Linked DNA regions of Homo sapiens: region 2 is linked to region 1. Evidence: promoter capture Hi-C in human tissues and cell types (Jung and others, 2019). All regions are on one chromosome and are shown on one strand. The core of a region is centred on a gene start or on the middle of the fragment in contact, and the rest is flanking DNA. Distances in the headings are between cores, read along the strand shown.

What was found. The method cuts DNA at HindIII sites, captures the fragments that hold promoters and counts their contacts. A contact is called where the count stands out against the background at its distance.
Region 2: a fragment that was not itself captured here is called in contact with the fragment with the promoter of RSPO3 in region 1 in 1 of the 25 tissues and cell types used here (adrenal gland).

Annotation. Positions count from the first base shown.
Region 1 is chr6:127,116,259-127,120,162 of GRCh38, reverse strand. It overlaps RSPO3 (R-spondin 3), which reads right to left and starts at 1,492. Exons shown (of 5, transcript NM_032784.5): 1 at 874-1,492. The coding sequence starts at 970. LOC105377989 (a long non-coding RNA gene) reads left to right here. Exons shown (of 14, transcript XR_002956387.2): 4 at 1-1,262. The HindIII fragment of the contact is 6,946 bases long and covers 1-3,904 here.
Region 2 is chr6:126,955,800-126,959,727 of GRCh38, reverse strand. All of the region lies in intron 7 of LOC105377989 (a long non-coding RNA gene), which reads left to right. Among named protein-coding and RNA genes, the nearest start is that of RSPO3, 160 kb to the left of the region's middle. The HindIII fragment of the contact is 6,473 bases long and covers 1-3,928 here.

The DNA.
Region 1 (3,904 bases), core at 243-2,742:
ATTCCAGCTAGGACACCGTCTTAAGAAGCCATCACAATCCAACCCTCCAAATAACAGCATTAAGGGCAGCGAGGAGGCGAATCTTTAGGGAGACCCCACTCTCTGTACGTGTGTGTCCCAGGGGACACACTTGAAAGGGCCAGAGATGGTACAGACGCTCACATGTGACAAGAGAGAACCTGGAAACTCCGCACCTCCGGCTCCCCACAGCTGGGGTTTTGCTGTCTTCAACCCTCGGGCGGGGGACGTCCGGCAGCTCTGCAAACGCGCAGACACGCGAACCCCATCGCCTCGCGCGCCCTTTGGCTCCGCTGGTGCGTGTCGGGGATGCGGCCGCGCAGGCGCTCGCTCCCTGGCTTCCTGGCCGGGTAGCGGGCGTTCGGCTACCGGAGTCCAGCCTAAGGGCCCAGCCGAGGTCTCCCCGCGCGAGGCGGTTGCGCTAGGTGAGCGGGTACCGCGGCCGCGCCTCCCTTGTCATTTACTCAGCGGTCAGAGGCATCCTGCGTCTGGGAGTCCCAAGTGCCTTCGGCTGGGTGCCCCTGTCCGATCCTCAAAAGGAAAGCACAAATCCCGGGTGCGAGTCTAACCCAGGACCGAACTTTCCCGCGAACCTGAAGTTACCATGGGGCGGGAGCCACCTTAGCGCCGCGTCCGCCCGCCCCTCGCACCGGCTAGGATGCTGCGGAAGGCAGGGGCGCCGAGAGGCAAGGGTGAAAGACGCCGTCCATACCCCCAAAGCCCGAACCTGCATCTCCTCTGCGAGGCGCAGGGCGGGAGGACCGCTGCAGTTGGGAGCCGGCTCCGGACAGGCAAAGCGACCCGACAGGTGAACGCGGCGGGAGGGAGCAAACGCGTAAAAAACCCTGCACTTACTTCTTCGCTGGCGCCTTCCCCGGGAGGCGTTTTGGCTGCCGATGTATTCCATAAAGTTCAAAATGATAAAAAGCCAAGAAATCAGTCGCAAGTGCATAGTAACCCAGTAATGCTTCCCTTCCTTTCTCCTCTTTCTTTTGATTGTTAATTATATTTAATGTTTTTAAAATATATGTAGGTGTTAGGCGTATATAGACAGTGCCCGAGCAGCGGGACTTCTCCTCTCACATCCGATAGGCGTGCTGTGATGGCAAGCGAAGTGGGGCGGGTGGACAGGGAAACCAACTATTGTACTTTCAAATTATCCAAGCACTGAACTGCGGCGGCTTCGCTGGGGTGGCTGGCATCGCCGCGAACCGGGGTTCCAGGAGCCGCCGGGGCGGCCGCAGGTAGCATGTTGTGCGGCAACTGCCGCAGGCGGGATCCGGGCGGGCGAGCGGCGGCGGCGGCGGCTGCAGCGGCGGCCCCTTGGGCTCAGAAGCTGCGGCGGCTGCGGCTGCAGCGGCGGGGGCCCCTGGAGCGCAGGGGAGCGGGCGCCGTCGGCACAGCGGCCATGGCCAAGGGGCGGCGGAGAGACCCCGAGCTGCTTCTGGCGTGCGCGAGCAGGAGACGCTCCAGTGTTGGGCTGGGCTCCCGGGAGCACCACATAGGGGAGGAGGAGGAGGAGGGCAGGGAGGGGGGAGGGAGAGGAGGGCAGGGAGGGGGAGAGGAGGGGGGATGGCTGTGGGGGGCGGGGGGGAGCTCGGGGGCGGGGAAGGAAACTGCTGGAGCAACAACCCTGAGCGACCTCAATAACTTTCAATTTCAAGAGGGAAAGAGGGAGCTGGAAAAGTACAGGCGTTGCGCTTTGGCAGAGGGACGGGAAGAGGCGCCTAAGGGGTCCCGGGTCTACAGCGCAGCATCTCTGGACACTGCAGTGACGGCCGGAGAATTCCAGCCAGAAGAATGGGGAAAGCAGTGCGTGCGAAGAGCCCCTCCAGAAGGGCAGCTCTGGCGGGGAGACTTGGGCGCACTGGGGCTGGCAGGCAGTGTTGAGGCCGAAGACCCCCCACCCATCCCAGTTCGGCTCCTCTCCGCGGCCTCAAGCTAGGCGCACCCGGCTGTCGGTGGCCGTGCGCCCCTGCGCCCTTGTGCCCCAGCGCCCCCACCCCATCCCCAGCGCCGGCGCGCAACTACCCTCTCCCCCTTGGCAGATCGCTGGAGAGTTTCTGGCTGCTGACTTGTTCCCGGCTTTCCTGACCTTCTCCTCTGTTGCCTTTCTCCCTTTTTCTTTTTCTCTCTCTTTCTTTCTTTCTTTCTTTCTTTCTTTCTTTCTTTCTTTCTTTCTTTCTTTCTTTCTTTCTTTCTTTCTTTCTCTTTCTTTCTTTTCTTTCTTTCTTCCTTCCTCTTTCTTTGTCTTTCTTTCTTTCTTTCCTTCCTTCCTTCCTTCCTTCCTTCCTTCCTTCCTTCCTTCTTCTTTCTTTCTTTCTTTCCTTTCTTTCTTTCTTTTCGGCTGCAGTTGGTCGCCAGGCGGGTGGTGGGGAGGAAACTCTGTGGGTGCTGCCGGTCAGCTACTCTGAGGTTTACCTGCTCCGAGCGGGGAGGACCCAGAAGTGTGTGCGCTCAGGACCTTCCCGTTGGAAATGCAGCTGTGCTACGGCTTTCTTCCAAACCAAGGCTTTTCTGTGGCTTTGGAAGATTCCTTTCCCGCTCAGGCAATTCCCTCTATAGTCAGCTCGCCCCCCTTGGAGTTTTCTCTCCCACCCTCGGTCTCCCAGTGTTCTTGAGAGGATCTGTTGTACATTCTAATCTCGCATCTGGAAGACTGGGAATAAGATTTGGAAAGATTTTCCCAGTCTTGGGGAAGGAAGGGGAAGGTCCACTACTTTCTTATCTTCCCAGCCCAAGTGGAGGCCCAAGGCAGCAGAGAGTAAGATGCTCTGGCCCACCCAGGGATGGGAGAACAGAGGGCCGGCACCCCTGAGTGGGGCACACCCTGGCTGTCGTTAGTAAATGGTGAGCTTTCCACGTCTTTTCTCCGGTAGCACCAGCCGATGAACTTTTCAGTAATTACTGAAGAAGTATTTAGTCGAAAGTCACAAGCCTCAAGTGATTTTAACATAAGCCTGCCCTATGTATTATATTTAACAGAATATCTGAAGGACTACACTAGCACTACAGGTTAACACAGCAGCAAACTTCTGGGAGGTCACTTTGAAAGAGTCCCTGATTCATAGGTGCTTTGCTAATTTTTGTGCTCAAATAATTCAGTGTAAGTCAATTGCTAAAGCCTTGCAGAGTAGCAAGTGACACTTGCACTTCTATCTCCTTCCTCCATTTGTAATCCCTATTACTGGATTGCCTTCAATTTATGTAAATTAGGTAAATTTACATGAATTAGAGCATTTTGTAAGTTTGCAATGCTGTGAATTGTATGTCTCTGGAGTCCTTTAGTGGTATATTTGTTATACATCCCAAAAGTAGGATAGAGGCGATAAAGTGGCCTGGATGCAAAAGGAAGGGAACTTGAAATATGCATTATTTTCAAGATGCTAAAAATTAGAATCTGAGAGATGGCCTTTTGATGTTAATTCTTTAATTAAATATCATTTATTATTTTGCATGCTCGTGTTGGAATTTCGAAAGTAGGCATAGTCTCCTTTAGGTTTGATATTATGAGGAAGATGACACCTCAACAGGATTATGATTTTTGCCTTCTTTTTAAGAGCTCCCATTTACAACATCCCTCTTTCAGTGGTAGAACTTTTTCTGTACATTGTATGCACATGTGTGTGCACACCCCCACACACAGACTTTCCATCCTTTATCTGTTGCAAAGTGTCTACTTATAAATGACTGAGTTTATCACTTTGAACCAGCGAAGTTACAGATAACAAGACAATTCCAATAATGATTATCCAAAAAAGAAGCCACTCTATTTTACTGTGCCTGTCCCCATCTGCTTTGCTTTCCTTCTTGCTAATACCTCAAATCCTGAATATCTGCACCATAAAACATGGGGGATTTAAAGACTATGGGAGGCTCCCTTTGA
Region 2 (3,928 bases), core at 1,308-3,807, 160 kb after region 1:
TGAGAACAAGTTGCTGTTATCAGAAACAAGCCACAGGGCCATGGGAACCAGCCTGGATGGGAGTTGGGATCATGGAGGGAATAGGTCTGCAGGAGCTTGGGGCAGGATGGAGGAAGATGTAAATAGAGAGACACAGTCACTGTCAGATGCCAGTAAGGCAGAGAGAGGAGGCACGTTGCCCTAGTGTTTATTTCTCCTGCTACCCAGTTTCTTGCCATTGCTTTACACTGGCCCAAACTAGCCAAAGCCAGCTATCAAGAAACCCTGGGAAATATGGCAATCTGCAATAAGACCAAAAGAAAAGGAGGAAATGCATCTGAGTACAAACAGGCAAATGACCCTCATACCTCTTTCACACCTTCTCACCAACACACATACTCTCTCTCTCTCTCTCTCTCTCTCCCTCCTGGTTGTTTCTGTTCCCTTCAGGTTCACAGAGATGTCTGTCTCAATTTTTCTTAATTTGGTTCCACCATTTTTTTTTGTTATCCAAAAAGAGATTTCTTTTTTATAACCACTGTATTCAGAGTGGAGTAGGGGTGGAGGAATACTTTCAAAGTATGAAATCACAACATGGGCTTGACTAAAAGATATCACATTATCTCTCTAGCCCTGGAGTTTCACTTTGTAGATTTTTGTTTTTTTTTTTTCTTAGGCACGATTGCTGAGTGAAAGGGCATTGGCTCTCAGTACAATCACATCTGGATCTCCGTTTCAGCTTCACATGAATAGTGTGATTAATTTTGGATAAGCTACTTAGCAATTTTCCTTATCTGTAAAATTGGAATAATTGATACTGACCTTAAGATTTCTTTAATGATTGAATAAAAAAGAATATCTAAATTGCCATTTTCTGTGTCAGGTATTCAGTGGGTTCTTGACATATGGTTATTACTATAATGTTATTACATTATTATTGTCCTAGTTAAGTGAAAGTATTACTAACCTTGATTTGTGTTTTCTGATATGTGACTTTATGTTATATTTATGTTATGTATTTTCTGATGTGAAACTTTTACCTTGTTTGACCAGGAAGCACTGATTAGTAGGACTCACAGTAGAATAAGCCATAACTAGTCATGTATCAAGCATAATGTGGTTCTTTGGTTTTGAGTGTAATGGATGTGCTTAGGAATTAGTAAGGTGCCTATACATATCATGATTTTATCAATTGAAAGAATATATCTTGCAACATGTTAGCACAGTCAGCAAAAGTAAAACCAGAAACAGTTATAAGAGAAAAAGCAGGTTTGTTCAAAGTATATTTTAATGTAGATAAATTCCCCAAATCAAAGATTGGAATTGTAGTGCATAACATTTCATAACTCTAAGGACCCTCTTTGTTGAATTAAAATGTTAATATTTTAATATTTTAAAGGCCTTTTGCAAATATTTAACTAACACATTCATATTTTATAGCCTTTGAGCACTAAAATTTGGTGAGATTTTTTTTTTTACTCTCCAAATGTTGACTAATGCTGGCATACGCAATCTAAAGGGATTAATAGTTTTCATATACATCTCCCTTGTCTTTCATTTTAAAACCTCATCAAAAAGTTTCAGCCTCTTTTTGTTACTTTTCAAGAACAGCTCAGTTGATACTTTGACCCATGTTGCTCAATTATTCTTCTTCAGAGGGTGTCTACTTAAATGGATTGGTTTTACATAAAAAGGATTTGACTACATTCGATATTAAAATAAACATCAATTAACATACTTGTTGGGTTTTTATGCTGCCAAATCATTGGTTAGACTGACTGCTTCCCTTTCCAAGCTTGTTTTGGCATTGTCAAAACTATGTCTGAGCTACCCAGACTCTTTCCTAACTTCAGAACCCAAGTGCTTGGTTCTAATACCAGGAGGCGATGAATCATTATGGTTCCGTCAGACTTCATAGGGCCACATAAATGATGTAGAAGTTAGAAGCCTGTTTCATTGTCTAATCCCCAGCCTGTCCCATTTTATTGACATTTCCTATTTGATTAACAGCAAATTCTCACCATCTTTAACATTGCTAATGGAAATATTCCATACAAAGGCTGAATTTGTACTATGTGGTAACTTTCTGTTGTTTCCAACATGAGCAGTCTTCTATGACTAAAAAATGTTCTGAAGGGCTGAAATTTCTACCAATGCACATATAAATAATTATGGTGGTTGCAAGTATGTTCCTGGGCAATGAGAAATTCAATTTGTCCTTGTCAAAACAAAACAAAAGAACCAAACACAAATTGGTTGGAATGTTTGAGTTAGTGGAAAGCATTCATCAGAGATGTATTGGAGAGGGAGATAATCAGAAAATGGCTTAACTACATCAGTTTTGCATTGATCTGACTGTAATAAATGCCTTTTTGTGTAGCTATAAGAATGGTGGTAGTTGTCTTAAGGTCAAAATATCCACAGGGAGTTTGTTGAGAGTGGTAAGAAGAAACATCACAGAGAAGTGAAACAAAGGAAAATGATTGATGATGTATGAGGACTTCATTCTGTAAGAATAATCTAAAATTTTTAGTATTGTTTTCTGGATGTTTTAAAGTCTTTCTTTTATAAATCAGAGCTGTGTTTAGTACAATATGGATCCAAGTGTTGGACCCCACAATATTTGGTTCATTGTGTGAAATGCAACAAGTCTTAGTTGCTGTGTCAAAAACCACATAAGTACTTATTCTCAAGACATATTCTCAAAATACTGAGAAATCAACCCACATAAGAAGTGGTGAATGTAAAGATCTATCGACTTCAGAAAAGTCACTGTATTTCAAAAAATAAATTTCATCTTAGACAATCAATCACAAAGAATAACTGGAGATATAGTATGAATATAGTCAACAGCAATGGAGAACTATAGGAAATAGCTCATGTTTATTATACCAGGAAAACAAATTAAAATAATATGAGTGTGAAAAAATCAGAGGCTATACATTTTTTAACCTTAAGAAGGAATATCTTATGTTAATGACATATTAATAACTACAAAGTGGCTAAGCACCGTGGCTCATGCCTGTAATCCCAGCACTTTGGGAGGCCAAGGCAGGTGAATAACTTGAGCCCAGGAGTACAAGATATGCCTGGGCAACATGGTGAAACTGCATCTGTACAAAAAATACAAAAATTAGCAGGGTGTGGTGGTGTAAGCCTGTAGTCCCAGTTACTAGGGAGGCTGAGGCAGGAAAATAGCATGAGCCCAGGTTGAGGCTGCAGTGACCTGTGATTGTGCCATGGCAATCCAGCCTGGGCAACAGAGCCAGATCTTGTCTCAAAATAGTAAAAATAATAATAACCACAAAATATTGAGCATAGCATATATGTCACACATGGTGTTTTCTAAGCTATATTATGTTGTTATTTGATATAACCAAGCTAGGAAGAAATTAGTGGAAAAAATATAAGAAAAGAACAGATTGCATTCTTATAAATGATGGCCTATGTATTAGGGGATTCTATAAGAGGTAAATGTCATTGTTAGGCTGATCTGGAAAGTAATGAGAATATTTCTATAAGATACATGTGTGTACTGGTCTTATTCCTTTTTTTTCACTCATTTCTGAAATTAAGAAATAATCTTATACATAAATTCAATTCGTTGCAGGTAAAAGTATACCATTCAGAATAGAGAAGGAGAAGAAAAGATAGAAGGAAGTCACATTGTTCACCACACAAGGTTGTTGTGGAAATGTGAGGGAAGGGTCATTTATTATTGTTTTTATTTTGACTGGGCTCAGATTTTGTGCTCACTGAAAAGATACAATTGTGAGAACTTGCTCTAAAGTCCCAGCTGTTGATGGACAGGCATCCTCTCCCAAGGTAATAGGGAAGTTGTTTAAGCAACTCATATTTTTGGAAGAGGCAGTGTTTGTTGTAATTTGATCCTAACTGCAACCTATATCTCACCTGCATTCATCAATGCCAAGCCACAAAAATGCCTGGA